Linked DNA regions of Homo sapiens: region 1 is linked to region 2. Evidence: promoter capture Hi-C in human tissues and cell types (Jung and others, 2019). All regions are on one chromosome and are shown on one strand. The core of a region is centred on a gene start or on the middle of the fragment in contact, and the rest is flanking DNA. Distances in the headings are between cores, read along the strand shown.

Region 1 (2,700 bases), core at 86-2,585, 56 kb before region 2:
CAAATCCTCCACACAGATAGTAACTAGCCACTTCAAAATCACTGGGAGTGGAGCCAAGAGAGGGAACACTGAGACAAGGACTTTGTAAATCTTAAGGATAAACTCCTCCCCACACAAGAAAAACAGACAGCACCTAAAGCATTTTCTTTGATTTTTTTCCTGATCTCTCTAAATTTAAGAAACCTGGCCTTAAAGTCTGAGAGATCAAGCCCAGCCTCCCATAGGGAAGGACAAATTGTCCCAAAGTCCTTAACATGCAGGTCTATTAAACCTCTGATCTGCCTGGAGAGACCCTAAACCTTATGACTGCTTTGAATGAAGGACAATATTCAAGAATATAGGAAATTTCAGATACAGGATCAAAGATAACATTAATTCTAGGAAGCTTGAATACAAGGACAGAAATTCTTTTGACTATTGAAGGATGTGGAGAAAAAGTGGCTGAAGTTGCTGGGTTATAATTGCTGGGTAGAGAATTTTTCCTGGGGTGGTATCTCCTTTCCATGAATGTGTAATTGCAAGGAATTCATTGCAATTTTAGGAAAGGTAAGAACCTTCTTCTCAAAAAGTTAAAGAGTAGGAGCCTAACAATTGGCCTTCCAAAAGGGAATCTCTAGAGCAGCCCAGTATCACCACAGTTGTAAATATGAAATAGTAGCTTTTTGTAGGTTGTAGGTACTATTTCATATTTACAACTGTGGTGATACTAGGCTGCTCTAGAGATTCCCTTTTGGAAGGCCAATTGTTACAGGCAACCTACAAAATGGGAGAAAATTTTCACAACCTACTCATCTGACAAAGGGCTAATATCCAGAATCTACAATGAACTCAAACAAATTTACAAGAAAAAAAACAAACAACCCCATCAAAAAGTGGGCGAAGGACATGAACAGACACTGCTCAAAAGAAGACATTTATGCAGCCAAAAAACACATGAAAAAATGCTCATCATCACTGGCCATCAGAGAAATGCAAATCAAAACCACAGTGAGATACCATCTCACACCAGTTAGAATGGCAATCATTAAAAAGTCAGGAAACAACAGGTTCTGGAGAGGATGTGGAGAAATAGGAACACTTTTACACTGTTGGTGGGACTGTAAACTAGTTCAACCATTGTGAAGTCAGTGTGGCGATTCCTCAGGGATCTAGAACTAGAAATACCATTTGACCCAGCCATCCCATTACTGGGTATATACCCAAAGGACTATAAATCATGCTGCTATAAAGACACATGCACACGTATGTTTCTTGCGGCATTATTCACAATAGCAAAGACTTGGAACCAACCCAAATGTCCAACAATGATAGACTGGATTAAGAAAATATGGCACATATACACCATGGAATACTATGCAGCCATAAAAAAGGATGAGTTCATGTCCTTTGTAGGGACATGGATGAAATTGGAAACCATCATTCTCAGTAAACTATAGCAAGAACAAAAAACCAAACACCGCATATTCTCACTCATAGGTGGGAATTGAACAATGAGATCACATGGACACAGGAAGGGGAACGTCACACTCTGGGGACTGTTGTGGGGTGGGGGGAGGGGGGAGGGATAGCATTGGGAGATATACCTAATGCTAGATGACGAGTTAGTGGGTGCAGCACACCAGCATGGCACATATATACGTATGTAACTAACCTGCACAATGTGCACATGTACCCTAAAACTTAAAGTATAATAATAAAAAAAAAGGTACCAAGTTCCATTAGAAGTTCACCAAACTATATAATAGGGATGGATGTTGAAGAATTATACCTTTATTGTACTACTACAGGAATAAACTCTCCAACACTGCATTATAATCTAACAAGGTAAAGTTTAAACAGGAGCCTTGCCATAATTCAAGGAGAAATTTCATCCTTTTCATAGATGTCATATTGATCAGCAGTCAGAAATAATCATAACTGAACTCTGTCTTTCCTCGTTAGTTTGATGACTAAAAATGCTAGAACAATTAACAAGAAAAAAATTCAAGGGCCCTTCACCAAACAACATTTGTGAGAGTAGCATTATTTGGAGCAAACAAACTATGCACTGAATGAGACAAAAATTTTATCCTTGAGAGCCACATCACCAAACAGGAGGCAAAGAAACAAGTGTCATGTGTGGATAGTGACACATCTGGGTGTTATGCTGTAGTCTCATCATTCAATTGCACAGCATCCTGAACAACAAAATGCCTTAAAGCTTGCACAAGCAACTTTCTGACCTCTCTGCCCTTGATGTGGAGCCATCGGCATGTCCCAAATCAAATGACAAAGCTGTCAAGTCTGCCAAATAGTGTTCTCATTTTGAAAGACAATTGCCAGCCACTTACTGTGCCATAGTTAAAACAGCAGTTCATAAACAGAACATCAAATTCTTTTGCTACCCCCATTAATTGCCTTATACCTGAAACCTCATTACTCTCAAGGAGGAATGAGCAAATGAGATTTCCATTCTTAAATGGAAACAGTACAGTCAATAGAGAGTCATATTGATCTCCAAAGAGATATGAAGCCATCACAGATTGTGCTGCCCTGCTGGAGACCAGCCCTTGACAAGGGCACCCATACTGATTCCAAAGGTACATTGCTTCTAAGAAATACTGTCCTTGACCTCTGCACTTTTTGCTCTAATACGTCTCCAAGACCGTTATTTCTTTTTTTTTTTTTTTTTTTTTTTTTTTTTTTTTTTTTTGAGACGGA
Region 2 (2,700 bases), core at 113-2,612:
ATAGAAATTGCAGGACCTCCAGGAGTTCGAGGCCAGCCAGGCCAAGATGGTGAGACCCCCATCTCTACTAAAAACACAAAAATTAGCCAGGCACGGTGGCGGGTGCCTGTAATCCCAGCTACTCGGGAGGCTGAGGCAGGAGAATCGCTTGAACCAGGGAGACGGACGTTGCAGTGAGCCGAGAATGTGCCACTGCACTCTAGCCTGGGCAACAGAGCAAGACTCCGTCTCAAAAAAAGAAAAAAAAAAGGGAAGAAATTGTAGGACCTGAGCCAGAAAAAACTCATTTGGTCGTCTCTGAAAGCCTTTAGTCTTTACAAGAATTGCCAGAATCAACTGATGGTGTATTCTCTTGTCACTGCAGCCCAATTGAGACCACTGTATTTAGTTGTCTGTCCCCTTAGATCCACAATATTTTAGGGACTCCTGGCACCATTCCATAGTAGGAAGAAAAAGCTAACATAATTCAAGTTACCAAAACTGGGGTCTGGGGAGAGAAACTGATAGGAACTTCATCTACACTTTCTCATAAAAACTGATACTGATAACATAGCAAACAAAAAGTACAGTAAAAACAAAAAGATGACACAATACGCTTCTCATTTATTTTATATTTATACAAACAGCGCTTCCCTGAAAAATCAGGGTATCGTTCAAGATTTTATCTTTATTCACAGAAGTTTTAAAATTTTTAACTTTTATATGCACAAGACAGTTCTGATTTGTTGAATTAAGTGACCGCGGGTGTGCTAATGCTTCTAAAAAACAGCATTAGCCTTCTCCCATCAAAAGTCCGGAAGCTGCCCTTCAGTCGTCAAAGTGTTTGCCTTAATTTGCAATCGTTATGACTTGAGCCAAATGCTTATACCTCATTTGTGTCGTATATGTGAAGATACAATTGCAAATCGTTCACGACCTTGAGTCAAGACCTTGAGTTTCCTGAGGTCAGGAGACCGTTAGGGAATGTGAGTGTCCCAGACGGGCGCTGAGCCCAGCTCGGAGACCCACCCCGCCCGTAGCAGCGGCGCGGGCCCCAGAGAGCCCCGCACTCGGCCGCGCCTCAGTTACGCTGACTCGGCTGTGCCCGCAGTGTCGCGCTGTCGCGTAGCCAGGTGTCGCCGGGCTGGCGCGGTTATTTATGACTGCGTGGTTGGGCTGGGGGTTCGGGGCCGGGGAGCAGCCGGGATCCGCCGCCTCTTCCATGATCTTCCCGGGCCGAACCACGGGACCGCTACGCTGAAGGTGGCGTCGCGGGTCCCCGGGGCCGCGCGAGTGTAGGGGTCGCTCTCGGCCGGCCGCGAAGCTCGCGGCACCGACTTCTCGCGAGATTTCGGCGACCCCCCCCCCCGCCCCCGCCCCTCCGTTCTCTGCCCCCTCCCAGCTCTGGTGTGGGCGGCCTCCGCTATGGCTGCGCTGCGAAGGCTCTTGTGGCCGCCACCCCGGGTGTCTCCTCCACTCTGCGCTCACCAGCCCCTCCTTGGGCCGTGGGGGCGGCCTGCGGTGACCACCCTGGGCCTTCCTGGCCGGCCCTTCTCCTCCCGAGAGGATGAGGAGAGGGCTGTGGCGGAGGCGGCATGGAGGCGGCGGCGGCGCTGGGGGGAGCTGAGCGTGGCGGCGGCGGCCGGCGGGGGGCTGGTCGGCCTGGTATGCTACCAGCTGTACGGGGACCCCAGGGCCGGCTCGCCGGCGACCGGGCGACCCTCAAAGAGCGCGGCCACGGAGCCCGAGGACCCGCCCCGCGGCCGGGGGATGCTGCCCATCCCAGTGGCGGCTGCCAAGGAGACGGTGAGTGCGCGAGCGCGCGTCACACCTGCGCGGGGGATGTGACCTTCGTGCCGGGTACGCAGGACCCTGGAGGCTGTGGGGACGGTGCAAGCGCTGTGGCCGCGGGTGAGGAACTTCCCGTGAGCGAGGCTGACACCTAGGCCGGACAGCCTAGGATCCGGTCACCCACGTATTGGGAAGACCAGTGATGCTGTCCCTGATGCATCAGGACCTTAAAGGTGGCTGCAGCTACCAAGTATCAATCCAAACCCAAAACCAACACCCCTCCCCCTCTTACAAAAAAAGATTCAGAAATGAAGGCCATGACAGGCAGAAAGTGGACCGCTGTAGGTGTGGGAAAAAGGAACTCCTAGATTGCGCGGGGCGACAGCTAATGACCCAGGAGGTCTGTTGCATTAGAATGAGTTTCGAAGCAGCGGTCTGAGATCTCAAAAGCCACTACTTTAGCATATGAGAATTTATTAGTCCCAAGAAAGGAAATGCTAAACCTGCATGCTAACGCCCTTATCATACCCAGGGAATGTTGATGTTACCAGGTCTGAAAAGAAATAAAAAATTGTTCAAAAAGAGACATAAGTATTTCTCTCTTTTTCCTTCCCCCACTAAAGCCAGAATCCCGTTAGTAGGTAACGATAAAACACAAAATGGATAGGATAGCAAATGTAGGAGGCTGTGAATGACACAAACTCCTACAGAAGAAAGTCACGTGAAAATGTTCAACTGTCATTATGTAGTTAATAATACAAGGTAAAGATGTGTGAAAGGCAACAGTGAGTAAAGGAGCGTGATTTTTTTTGTCGCATCAGTATATTTAATAGTCATGTAAATGACTAGGAAAATTAAGGAGATTTTCCTTGCAAGGCTCGAAGAATGTGAACGGCGTAGATGAAAATAATTTAGAAAACAGAGAGCTAT

Evidence for each region. The method cuts DNA at HindIII sites, captures the fragments that hold promoters and counts their contacts. A contact is called where the count stands out against the background at its distance.
Region 1: a contact is called between a fragment that was not itself captured here and the fragment with the promoter of MICU3 in region 2, in 1 of the 25 tissues and cell types used here (dorsolateral prefrontal cortex).

The regions. Positions count from the first base shown.
Region 1 is chr8:16,970,277-16,972,976 of GRCh38, forward strand. No RefSeq gene overlaps it. Among named protein-coding and RNA genes, the nearest start is that of FGF20, 31 kb to the right of the region's middle. The HindIII fragment of the contact is 5,468 bases long and covers 1-2,700 here.
Region 2 is chr8:17,025,876-17,028,575 of GRCh38, forward strand. It overlaps MICU3 (mitochondrial calcium uptake family member 3), which reads left to right and starts at 1,363. Exons shown (of 15, transcript NM_181723.3): 1 at 1,363-1,785. The coding sequence starts at 1,405. RefSeq lists a silencer at 1,341-1,750 and an enhancer at 1,901-1,990. The HindIII fragment of the contact is 10,669 bases long and covers 1-2,700 here.